Regions from separate parts of the Homo sapiens genome. Here regions 2 and 3 are each linked to region 1. The links are contacts of gene promoters, found by promoter capture Hi-C in blood cells and fetal thymus (Javierre and others, 2016). All regions are on one chromosome and are shown on one strand. Each heading gives the region's core, a stretch centred on a gene start or on the middle of the fragment in contact. The rest is flanking DNA. Distances are from core to core; before and after follow the strand shown.

What was found. The method cuts DNA at HindIII sites, captures the fragments that hold promoters and counts their contacts. A CHiCAGO score of 5 or more calls a contact.
Region 2: a contact is called between a fragment that was not itself captured here and the fragment with the promoter of FANCI in region 1, in 1 of 17 cell types (neutrophils). The highest score is 5.5, in neutrophils.
Region 3: a fragment that was not itself captured here is called in contact with the fragment with the promoter of FANCI in region 1 in 5 of 17 cell types (erythroblasts, neutrophils, megakaryocytes and 2 more); the score reaches 7.0 in erythroblasts.

What each region holds. Positions count from the first base shown.
Region 1 is chr15:89,241,543-89,245,840 of GRCh38, reverse strand. FANCI (FA complementation group I) reads right to left here and starts at 1,862. Exons shown (of 38, transcript NM_001113378.2): 1 at 1,808-1,862. RefSeq lists an enhancer at 1,280-1,659. The HindIII fragment of the contact is 10,185 bases long and covers 1-4,298 here.
Region 2 is chr15:89,037,446-89,041,743 of GRCh38, reverse strand. It overlaps CARMAL (coronary artery disease region linked MFGE8 regulatory lncRNA), which reads right to left and starts at 746. Exons shown (of 4, transcript NR_183882.1): 1 at 444-746. It also overlaps a transcript of ABHD2 not described here. The HindIII fragment of the contact is 2,351 bases long and covers 760-3,110 here.
Region 3 is chr15:89,055,311-89,059,608 of GRCh38, reverse strand. The region is part of intron 1 of CARMAL (coronary artery disease region linked MFGE8 regulatory lncRNA); the gene reads right to left. It also overlaps a transcript of ABHD2 not described here. Among named protein-coding and RNA genes, the nearest start is that of CARMAL, 16 kb to the right of the region's middle. RefSeq lists an enhancer at 1-274. The HindIII fragment of the contact is 778 bases long and covers 1,316-2,093 here.

The DNA.
Region 1 (4,298 bases), core at 613-3,112:
CCTGATTATGTGACTTATCTTCCCTCCATGCCATCCTCATCTTAAAGCTCTTCAGTGGCTTCCATTGCTTTATCAGTCCAAAACCCTTAAGTAAGGATAAAATAAGTCCTGCAAGTTCTGACCCATGCCTACCTCCCTTTCATCACTCTGCTCCAGCCATGCAGAATTGCTTCCAGTCCTTCAAATCTCCAAGTTCTTTCTGCCACAGGCCCTTCCACATGTTTCCATCTGGAACTTAAATAAATATTCCTGCTTCCATCCACTGCCCCCCAATCTTTTATTACTAATTCCTACAAATCCTTCAGATCTTAGCTCAATCCACATCTCCTCAAAAGCTCAGTCTAGGCCAGGCGCAGTAGCTCACGCCTGTAATCTCAGCACTTTGGGAGGCCAAGGCGGGCGGATCACTAGGTCAAGACATCCAGACCTTCCTGGCCAAGATGGTGAAACCCCGTCTCTACTAAAAATACAAAAAAAAAAAAAAAAAAAAAAAAAAAAAAAAAAAATAGCTGGGCGTGACGGCACGCACCTGTAGTCCCAGCTACTTGTGAGGCTGAGGCAGGAGAATCACTTGAACTCAGGAGGCGGAGGTTGCAGTGAGCCGAGATCGCGCCACTGCACTCCAGCCTGGCAACAGAGGGAGACTCTGTCTCAAAAAAAAAAGAAAAGAAAAGAAAAGAAAAGCTCAGTATAGGTTGTTAAACGTTCCCCTAGTACATCCTCTCATGGCACCAGTAAACTCTCTTACATACTGTCACCAATTTTTAATATTACATGTGTAATTATCAGATTAACAAATGTTATCTCCCACTAGACTATAAGTCCCCTAAGGACACGGGCCGTAGCTGGTTTTGTTTATCATTGTATCTCCAGCACTTAGCACAGTACCTAGCTCAAACTAGGTAACAAATGTTTGTTGAACAAATTATTGAACCCCTATAATAGGGAAAACACTGAACCCAGCACTTTACATTCATTAACATGACTCCCACAACACCACCTACTAGGTAGGTGTAATATTAGCCCCATTTTAGATGAACAACTTTTGGGATTCAGAGATTAGGGAATTTCCCCCAAGATTAGAAGGCTACCAAGTGGCAGAGAGAGAAGTGAAACCCGAGTCTGTCCAGCTCCGGACTCCAAGATCCCATGCTTTGAACTACCGGATGCAAACAGGACACACCAACCTAAAAAGGTGTCCAGCCAGAAGGGGCAGGCGGCTTCGGAGGGGGATACGTTTAAATCAACCTAGGCACATTTGCTAAAATCATCCTAAAACCAGAGGTAAGACCAGAGGCGGGTGGCTGTGAATTCCCTGAACGCGAAGTAGATTCCTTGCCAAGAGACGCTGGGGAGCATCAGAGATCTGAAGCCAAGATCCGAGAATGGCAGAGCCCCGCCGGCGGGAAACGCCGCGGCCTTCCCTTCCGGGTTCTTCAGTTAACAAGCCGTGAGCGCAAATACAAAAACTATAACACGAAGCAGCTGGTGATGGAGACCGCGACCGGACAACAAATGCAAAGCAAGGTTAAGGGAAATTTCTCAGAAGTAAGAGCTCACCCTCGGCCAAGGGGGAAGAATTTAACAGAAGGGGCTCCGACTGAGGCACACCCCTAGGAGGGAACCGCGAAAGCTGAGGCAGGCGGCGGGAGACAGCGGAGCGCGCCTACTTTCCACGCCAGAGAAAATACCAGAACGCCAAGTCAGGACAGGAGCCTCCTTTCCCCCACAGAACCGCTCCCTCCCAGGGGCCCAGTCCCACAGCCCGAGCACCTCGCGAGCCGCTCTGCAGTCACCTCGGCCTCACCTCCGCCACAAACTTCCAAAAAGCCCGCTCAACCCAACGCCGCCACACTTCCGTTACCCGTAACAACAAGATCCGCCCCCGCGGCTCACTTCCGCCGTCCGGGTACCTGCGGGCGGGGTGTACCATGAAGACTGAAGGGGTGCCGGGAAGCGTGCGGGAGCGTCCCAGCTCACAGTCGGAGGGGGGCGCTGCCTGTCCGAACTCGCGCTAGGGACCGCCGATGAGCACGCGCGGTGGGACCTGAGCGTGCCCAGCGCGGTGTCCCGACAGGTTCAGCTTCCCTCCTGTCCTGTTGAGGGAGTAGTCAGTGCGGGAGGGGACTCACAATTGGTGGCCCCGCAGGTCTTGGCACTGGAAAAGCCTGGAAGGCAGAGGCGGATTTCATACTCCACCTTGTGCCAAGGGACGGTAACCCCTCAGATGTAAGCCCCCTGTGGCTAGGGGTCTTAATGGACTTTTGGGAGTTGTGGTTTTTGTTTGTTCTCTGTTTTGTTTTGTTTTGCGCTCCCCTTGCGTAACCCCAGCGTTTATTGCATAGCCTGGCAAAAGCAGCGAATATTTGTTAAATGAACAACTGACAGTGGGGCGAAGACCGACAGAGGGTGGGCCGAGATTCTATTTTGGGTTGAGGGAGCACCTTGCGCAAAGGGTCTGAGAGCAACGAGCAAGCAACAGAGCCCCTGGCCAGTTCAGAAGGCGAAGGTGCTCGGTGGGAGTGGGAAGGCAGGGGTTTCTAACTCCTTTTCATATTGGGGGCAGTGGGGAACCGCTGAAGGGGAAGGACATGACTGTGTTCGCATTGTAGACTGCTGTCTCGGGCAGGTGAGGACCGCAGAAACTGTTGAAAAGAGATGAGCCAGGTGGGGCGGACCGAAGGCAGGACCCCCCTTAGAAGACTGTAAGTTGTCCCAAAGATAGGTGGTGGTGGCCCAACCTTGGCAATGGGGACAGAAAGGAGTGGACCGCATGTGAAAGAGATTAGGAGGTAGAGATTTAGGAAGCCCAAATATCCGGATTTGAGGGGGTGTGGGCGTTGTTGAGGAATGTTCAGGCTTGAGCGACTGGGGTTGGGGGGCGGGGAGTTAATCCTGCAGTTGACTAACACAGGGAGCACAGGAAAAGGATGATGGGGTGATGATGAGCCCTTCAGAGTTGGACGCACCAAATTTGAGGTGCCTGTGGGATGGCAAGTGAAGGAATGCTAAGATCAGGGAGCATTTCAGTCTGGAACCTGACTCGACTCCCAGCCCTCGGGGGTAGAACGGGTCTACATGGCCAGTTATTGAAGAAACAGAGCTATTGGAGGAGAATGGTTCCTCTCAGCTGTCTAGACCTGCTCCTTGCTTGTGACCCTTCAGCATTTTTTTCCTTCTACATTTCTGTCCCAATACTGAGCTGTGATGTTTAACTAAAACACGGCAGCTTGAGGTAGAAGATGATTCCTGAAAGGAATCCTTTACCTTGCCAAGGAAGTAGATGACTTTGCCTCATCTCCCCACAAAATCTCCCAGGCTGCTTCTGGGATTCAGCCATGAATCTGTGGGTCTGGGTAGCTAGAACAAGCTCATTAGCCTCTCCGAGCCTCCACTGGCGCATCCCAGACGTACTTACTGAATTGCCTGTGTGTCTACCCACTGGCATTGATGCCTCAGGGTTCTTGTCTCCTCTTGTTGCACGAATGCATCATCTGTGTTTTCCATTTGCATTAATAAGTGTTACATATGCAAAAGAAGAGAAGAACAGATTCATTCAGATTAACAACAACGGTTTTTCACCCTGGTGCAGGCTTCCTTAACTAAGGAGCAAATCTTATCCGTCTGGTTCACTGACTAGACACTATACACTGAGAAGCTAGTGATACACTGATTCTAGAAAATACATCCAGTTAAAAACAGGTTTACAGTAATGGAACTAAATGTTCTTCAGACCTTGTCAATAGTACTTGTTTATCTTAACAACATTATAGCTACTAATATTTACAGGAGTCCAGAGAAAAAGTACAAATGGAAGCCCCTTACCATTCCCAACTCAGTCCTACAGTGTGAGGTCTCAGGCTTCCTATGCCTGCATGTGGACACCCAGCCTGAAGATCCACACCATGAGTCCCCCACAAAGCTGCCCTGTAGCCACCCTTTGGGTCTAGGGCTGTACATACTAGCAGGTCCACTCTAGGAAGGGTGGACCTAGGAAAAGGCCTATCTGGGCCCTGGAAGCAAATTTGAGGATGGTTAAGTAGGTACCTAGAGCATGATCTAAAGGAAGGTGGGTGGGCACATCCTCTGGACTCTGGGCAGAGGAAGACCAATAAGGCCCCCACCCCGCCCAAGAGCTCCAGTTGCTTGGGATTAAGGGCAGTGCTGCTTGAGAGAATGATCAAGGTAACACATATAAAGAGCCAAACTTAGAAGCACATGAAAGTGTTATTTCCTTCCAGCAAATAACTTTTGAAAAGTATTGAAAGCAGGATCTCAGAGAGATATTTGTATATCTG
Region 2 (4,298 bases), core at 686-3,185, 200 kb after region 1:
CAGACCGAGGGGCAGAGCTGCTTTCCCCAGCAGGGGAATAGAGTTGCGCCTTGCCTCAACTCTGCCTCTCACTGGCCTCAGTTTTCTTCTTAGTGGACTCCTAGGACATCTACCCAGATGCCCGGACAGAGGCACAGGCTTGGCTCAGGTCTTCCAGCCAATGAATAGCCAAGGCCGGATTCACACTAGGACAGTCTGGCTTTTAACTGCTGCACTAAGAGTCACTGCAGTAGATCCAGACATCAAGGAAGGTTCCCAGAGTCCTGGTGCCTCTGTGCCCTTAGGCGGGTGAATACTGATGGGTGGAGACAGAATTGTTACAAATATATAATAAATAAGTTATAGTAAAGCAGAATTCAATCCGAAACTCAGAAGAAAAGCAGTCCCCTCCATTCTATTGCAAACCACCTCTAAACTTCGTGGCTTAAAACCACAAAACTCACATTTGCTCATGATTCTGCAACGTGGGCAGAGCTCGGCAGCGGCAGTTCATCTCTGTTCCACATGGCATCAGCTGAGGCTGCTCCACCGAGGCTGCAGGATCCAGTTCCAGAATGGCACACTCACGTCACTGGAAGTTGATGCTGGCTGGCAGCCAGGGCCTCCTCTTGGCCTCCTTACACAGTTAAGTTAAACTTCTGCAGCACAATAGTTGGGTTCCAAGTGGGAGCATCCCAGGAGGAAGCATCCCAGGCCAGGGGTAGGCACTTTTCAAGCCTCTGCTGGCATCTTCTTGCTAGAGCCCTATTGGCCAAAGCTTGTCAGCTGACCAAGCCCAGAGTCAGTGTGGGAGGAGACTACACACAGTGGTGAATACTGGGAGCTGTGGTTTACCGAAGTGTCTGTCTGTCTGAACTTCTTTTTCCTAAGGCTCGCTTTGGTGCTCCTCACATTCTCCCATCAGCCTCCTCTGAAACCTGGTTCCATCCAGTATCCTCTCTCTCACCTCGTCCATTGCTCCTTCTTCAACGAATCCCTCCTTTCAGCCAACAGACCCACTCAAGCCACAGCTATCCCCGAACAGCTCCGTTCAGCCCTGCGTCTCCCTCAGGGTGCCGTCCTGTCTCCCTCCATTCCTTTGCTTCCAAAACCCTTCAAATAGCTGCTGAATGCTGGAAGCAGAAAAAGTTCCCTAAAGCCAATTTGCTACATTTATGAAATATTCTAGGCTGGGCACTGTGTCTCACGCCTGTAATCCCAACACTTTGGGAGGCCAAGGCGGGCGGATCACAAGGTCAAGAGATCAAGACCACCCTGACCAACATGGTGAAACCCCGCCTCTCCTAAAAATACAAAAATTATCTGGGTGTGGTGGCACGCACCTGTAGTCCCAGCTTCTTGGGAGGCTGAGGCAGGAGAATCGCTTGAATCCAGGAGGCAGAGGTTGTAGTGAGCCAAGATCGTGCCACTGCACTCCAGCCCGGCAACAGAGCCAGACTCTGCCTCAAAAAAAAAAAAAAAAAAAAAGTGAAATATTCTGATTTGTCCATTCTAAAGAATTTTTTCTTTAATGTTTTCAATGAATACGAATATATACTGTTAATGAATGCATTAGTAAATATATTCAAGAATATACTCTTATGAATATAAATAAAAATCTATTGATAAGAAGTCTAAACTACTCGATGACTCTTAGGTTCCAGCAAGCCCATAGTCTGTGAATAGATTCACAAGTGGAATATATTCATATTCACTGAGAAAAACTTTCTTCAAAATTTTTGACAAATTTGCCAAAATTGGCACACATCTCTTAATTAAAAAATTTCATCCCTCCTTTCTTCCATCCATTCATCCATCCAACGGATATTTATTTGAATGCCATGACATGCTCAGCACTGGGGCATAGTGTGGTTGAACACAGACCCAGCCCCGGCCCTCATAGAGTTTACAGTCTAGTAGGGGAGACAGTTACTCATTAAGTGATCATTTCAAACAAACCCTGAAACTGGCCGGGTGCCATGACTCATGCCTGTAATCCCAGCACTTTTGGAGGCCAAGATGAGAGGATCACTTGAGGTCAGGAGTTCGAGACCAGCCTGGCCAACACGGTGAAACCCCGTCTCTACTAAAAATACAAAAATCAGCTGGGTGTGGTGGCGGGTGCCTGTAATCCCAGCTACTCCGGAGGCTGAGGCAGGAAAACTGCTTGAACCCAGGAGGTGGAAGTTGCAGCGAGCTGAGATCGCGCCACTGCACTCCAGCCTGGGTGACAGAGTGAGACTCTGTCTCAATTAAAAAAAAAAAAAGAACACTGAAATTGCAATCTTGACCAGTGCTACCATACCTTTTCCAGCTCATGACACGCCCTTTGGCACGCACTGCTTTGGAATTTTGATCATACTGCTCCCTTTGCTGGCAATGCTCTTTCCCGCTTTCCCTGCTTGGCATATGCAGCTTAATTTTAAGACCCCAGTCAACAGCGCTCACTGTGGCTCTGGCTCCTATCCCCAGGAAAGATGAACTGCTCCATTATTTATGTTCTAGCAGCACTTGGCATAAACTTCTAGCAGTGAACATATCAAACCATAATATATTATATCTGTGTCTCTTCTATTAGATCGTAAGTGCAATAGGGTCAAGAATTCTGTCTTCAGAGGCTTGGGTGGAGTGAGTGTGCATGTTTAAAAAGAGAGAAGTTTACAAAAATGTTTAAAAAGAAAGAAGTCGGGGGGTGGGGGGCGGGTGGGCAGGCGCAGTGGCTCACGCCTGTAATCCCAGCACTTTGGGAGGCAGAGGGGGCCAGATAGCTTGAGCTGAGTTTAAGACCAGCCTGGGCAACATGGTGAAATCCCATCTCTACAAAAACATACAAAAAAAAAAAAAAAAAATTAGCTGGCTGTGATGGCAAGCACCTGTAGTCCCAGCTACTCAGGAAGCAAAGGTGGGAGGATTGCTTGAGCCTGGGAGGTCGAGGCTGCAGTGAGCTGTGATCGCCCTTTGCACTCCAGCCTGGGAGACAGAGTGAGACCCTGCCTCAGAAAAAAAGGTATCCTTACCTGACATGGAAAAATTCCTCTGGGCACCCATTAGGGGACAGACACCTCCATTTACACTCATCCTTTTAAAGCCTCTTATAATTTGACCCACAATATAGACATCAAAAATAAGCTTGAGGGAGGCCCAGCAGCCATGGTGGCAGACAGGGCTGGCAGGTAAGGCTCTGGTGGCCACTGACTTGAGGGAGAGCAGCCTGCTGACCTCAGCCAGGGCTGCAGCAGTGGGGCCAGTGCCAGACAAGGTGCTCCAAGGGGCTAGGACCAAGTGCAGTCATCTTTGCCTCTCTGGCATCTAGCAGCATTGACTAGATGCTCACACACTCGAGAAATACGTGTTAAGTGAACGGTCCCTGTGACAATCAAGCAGACTTTTTTCTTTCCGATGACACACCTCCTCTGGCCGCCACTGTCACCCTGCAGAGCAGAATCACTCTTCTGCGGGGAAGCTGGAAGGGAAACAGGCCAGGACAGCCTGGGTGAAGCAGGACTGTGTTTTGATGAGCTGAGCAAGCCTGGGTGCGGGACCCTGAGGTTACGTAGCAGACCAGGGACCCCAAGGAAGACTGCATGGATTTTGTGGGCAAAATCAGTCCATTTCAGAAATAGTTGGTGGTTTAATTGAGCCTGTGGACCAACTTGCAAAAGCAGCAGAAAATGAGAAGAGGAAGGTAGTTGGTGCTTGGAACTTGCTCCAATTTATGGCAAAACACAGAGAAGCCCAACAGCAACAACTTCTAGCACAAACAGCAGAAGAGAAAATGTGGCTAAAAAGGTGGTGGATTGAATATGAAGCCTCGTGGAAAGTAGATGCACAGAAGGAAACACATTTATTGGCCAGTTTATTTTCAGATGTGACTAACGACCTGAGTATGTCGTGTGAGATGCAGTGTGAGGAATACAGCCTTTCTGAAGGTGATAATACAAATCTGGAGGGGGCTTGTTTTAAACTTTAGCGCATATCTGCTGGGGAACATTGGTGCCATGTAGCCGGCAGCCACGGCAGTACAGGTACTCATCTCTGGCATTCTTAGTCTGAACTGAACAGTCTGTAAACGTTGATCTTTTTGTTTTTTTGTTTTTGTTTTTGTTTTTTTTCTGTAAATTCACAAAGACTTGGAAGGAAGAGCAATAAATTATTGTTTTCCAAACAAATAAACTTGAGAGAAAAATAATCCTTTTTCTCTCTTTTTTTTTTGAGACGGAGTCTCGCTCTGTCGCCCAGGTTGGAGTGCAATGGCGCAATCTTGGCTCAGTGCAACCTCTGCCTCCCGAGTTCAAGTGATTCTCCTGCCTCAGCCTCCT
Region 3 (4,298 bases), core at 455-2,954, 190 kb after region 1:
GCCCATCCCTATGAGAGAGTTAAATTCTCCAATTCATGGTTCAAGAGGTTTTTTTCCCCTTTCATTTCATCCATACCACTGTCTGCCCAACATTGTGACAAGAAATTCAGGGCTGCCTTCCCAAGTTATGAGTTGTGACCAATGATCAACCTAACGAATTTTGATCAGATCTGTGGGTCAGAAAATTGGAACAGGAAGTAATCTGTAGGCGTCTCCCAGGGACAAATAAATAGCCAGTTTGGATTTCCTCCAGGTCTGGTCTAGGCAGGTAGGTGGTCAGAACCATGCCAGCTTGTCTAGCCACAGCGAACATTTTGTGAGGATGTGAGTGGGTGTCAAGTGGCTCGCCTGGGTGGGCAGATGTACCCCTCTTCCTGGATCCCCTGGCATATGGGCATTGGTGAGACTGCAGAGCTGTGACCAGGTACAGCAGAGAAGAGAGCCCCAAACATGGAAGAGGGCATGATGGGAGATGCTGGAGAGGAGAGAAAATTTCCATTTGGCTTTTTGAGCTTCTTGTCAGGTCCTCAGAGCACAGCAACTTGGCAGCTCTCTGCGTGCCCCATTCCTAGTCTTCCTTCATGAATTTTTCATTTCAGGCAAAGAGCCCTTATCTTTCGCTGGAGCTGCTTTCCCATCAGCTGGTGACTAGGCAGATGAAGGTTGCATTAAGGCAGGAATTATCCATCCCTTGAGAGAGAAATGGCACTCTGTGCCCTTGAAAGGATGGCTTCTGCGCCACCACCCATTACTGCAGGCTTCTGTCCAACGTTGGATTGCTGTTTTTATTGAGATATTGTTGAGGGCTGAAAGAGAAAGGCTTCAAGGGCAGATACTATGGTCTTGTCTGAAGAGTGAGGTCTTTCCTGCTGCCAATCATTGGACATGAGGGGGCTCCACAGCAGGAAAGAGGAATTAAGAAGGGACTTGGCCTGTCACAACCCAGATTTCCAGGAGTCTCGATGTCCAGGGGCACTCCTGAGGGATGGAGGGAGTTAAGGATGTCATCTCTCCTTGTCCCCATCCCCTGGGCCCAGAGCAGGAGAAGCTCCTGCTGTGCACCTCCTCGGGCCATGTTCCTTTCTACAAAGGGAGTCCATACACCCACCCAAGACTAGGCTCCGTGTACCAGGACCCCAGAGTTTCTGTCCAAATTACAGCAAGCCCTCTTCTGTGCCTGCGGGGCATCTTCATTTTCTCTAGGTCTCTCTTCCCAAGAGTGGACCTCACTACCTGTGTTCACATGCTAGGTACTAGGAGTGGCCAAGGGGTAGCTGTTTTCAGGGTTGTAAGGGGTGTGGGTGTGGAGGAAGCTTGGATGTGTGAGCTGGAGTATCCACACGTATGTGAGGCTCCTCACGATCTGAAAGGATGAGCGTGGGTGGGTGGACCTGGGGCCAGAAGTGGAGAGCCAGGGGAATGGATCTCCAAGGAGGCTGAAAATCCTAAAAGTCAACCTGGTCTTTTAGGTGGTTATGAAGGTATCTACCTCAAGGCGGAAGGATGGAGCATACTTCATTTAAGGGTTTATCAGCTTGACTGAACAACTTGAAAATATGCAGACATAGAGTATGTGAGCTTCCATTCGTTCTCTTGCCTGGCGCCCCACAAATGTTGGTGGGCTTAATTTGTAAGTGGGGAGCTAGGGAGTCCTAGTCCTGGGGTCCCTGATGGACTGGGTAGAGGGCGAAGAGCTGCAGGAAAGAAGTCAGACCTGGCAAACTAAAGTTTTGACTCACGGTGTCCCCTGAATCTATCTTCGTTTTCTTAGTCCTCAGCTTTTAGGACAGTGTGATTGGAAAGTTCTGGCAGGTTTGTTTCTTTCTTTTTTTTTTTTCATTCCTTCTTATTAATAGCGGGTTTCACTGGGAAGCCGCATGGTGGCAATAGATGGCCCCAGTTGGAGAGGGAGCAGCGCCACCCTGAGGCCATGGAGGGAATGGCAGCAGGAATGGGGGTGAGCCCAACGGGGCCTGCCTCTCAGGAGCCCATGCACCAGGCACGCCCCCACCGTGATTCCACGACCATGGCTAAACAAGAAGGGGCTGTATTCTTACCCTCTTACCAAAAATAGCATTTTCACCATTGAAGCTTCCCAAAGAACTCTCAGCTGTTTGCTAACCATGAAAATCAATCCTTGGAGTTCCAGAGGCGGCCAGTCCCCAACTTCCCAGTGGTCACTGTGTAACCCCTGCCCTACCTCATCTTCAGAAACCCCATCATCACTGCGCCAAACCCCAAAGGGAAGTGGAGATGAAGGAAGGGAATTAGCTATGAGCAGCTTAGAAGAGCTAACCCGGGGGTGGCTTCTCAAGCAGAACTCACATGCTTACAAAGGGGCTTCAATAGATCCTTTACCCTTTTCACTTAACACTTTTAAAAATGGTATCACGCTGGCCTAGCGCAGTGGCTCATGCTTGTAATCCCAGCACTTTGGGAGGCTGACGCAGGCGGATCACCTGAGGTCAGGAGTTCAAGACCAGCCTGCTAACACGGTGAAACCCCATTTCTACTAAAAATACAAAAAATTAGCCGGGCGTGGTGGCGTGTGCCTGTAATCCCAGCTACTCAGGAGGCTGAGGCAGGAGAATCGCTTGAACCCGGGAGGCGGAGATTGCAGTGAGCCGAGATGGCGCCATTGCACTCCAGCTTGGGCAACAAGCGCAAAACTCCATCTCAAAAAAAAAAAAAAAAAAAAAAGGTATCACTTATAAACTGGATTAACAGTGTGAAAAAAATTTAATGCCTACTGACTATATTTCCTGACTGCCTGCACACAAACTCTGACAGGTAGAGATTGCTATTGTCCCATTTTACAGACAAGAAAACTGAGGCCCAGTGAGGTGAATGACTCACTCAAGGTCATGTTGTAATAAGTAGTGCTGCTGGGTCTGATTTTTTTCATTGCACTGTTCTATCTTTTGCAAGCACCCTGAAGGAATTTTATTTTTTTATTTTATTTTTTTGAGATGGAGTCTTGCTCTGTCGCCCAGGCTGGAGTGCAGTGGTGCGAACTCGGCTCACTGCAAATTCCACCTCCCGGGTTCACGTCATTCTCCTGCCTCAGCCTCCTGAGTAGCTGGGACCACAGGCACCTGCCACCATGCCTGGCTAATTTTTTTGTATTTTTAGTAGAGACGGGGTTTCACCGTGTTAGCCAGGATGGTCTCGATCTGTGCCCGGTGCCTGAAGGAATTAAAGATTCAAATTCCTGCCACAATCCTGCACTGGGGCATGGTGTTCTTTCTTACTGTGTCATTCAAGTTGCAAAATCCATACATATTCTTGTAACTAAGCAAATATCTCCAATGCCATCTCCTGAGGTGAGCAATATTAACAGTTTTGTGAGTTTTTTTCCTATTATTTTCCCTAGGAAGATACGAATAGTTACAAATTAAAAATTCGTAGAGGGATTCCCACCTCCATTTACAAAATTTTAATTAAAAGCAAAAATCAGGCTAGGCGTGGCAGCTCACATCTGTAATCCCAGCACTTTGGGAGTCTGTGGTCAGAGGATTGCTTGAGGCCAGGAGTTTGAGACCAGCCTGTGCAACATAGGCAGACTCTGTCTCTACAAAATATTTTTAAAAATTAGCTGGGCATGGTGACTCCAGCTACTCAGGAGGCTGAGGCAGGAGGATTGTGTGAGCCCGGGAGGTCAAGACTGCAGTGAGCCGTGATCACGCCACTGCACTCCAGCCTGGATGACAGAGTGAGACCCAGTCTGTAAAAACAAAAAAGCAAAAATCACATTACACAATTAGTTTGTAAACTACATTTTCCCTTAGCCACATATCATGATCATTTTGACAAGTAATATTGATTCATCTCACTTCATCTCACTCTTAATAGCAGTTCAATATTTCATAGTATAGAATATGCTATGGATTATTCAACCGCCCCCATATTGGTAGACATCCAGGGTGTTTCTAGTGATTTTTGCTATTATCAATAATATTGTGATAAACATCTCTGTAAATATTATAAACTAGTAGGCTGTAATCCCAGCACTTTGGGAGGCCGAGGCCAGCGGATCGCTTGTGGTCCAGAGTTCAAGACCAGCTTGGGCAACATGGTGAAATCTCATCTCTACAAAAAAATACTTAAAATTAGCTGAGCATGATGGCATTCGCCTATAGTCCCAGCTACTCAAGAGGCTGAGGCAGGAGAGAGAGGATCGCTTGAGTCCAGGAGGCAGAGGTTGCAGTGAGATGAGATCGTGCCACTGCACTCCAGCCTGAGCAACAGAAATGAAACCTTGTCTCAAAAAAAAAAAAAAAAAAAAGAAACTAGTGTTT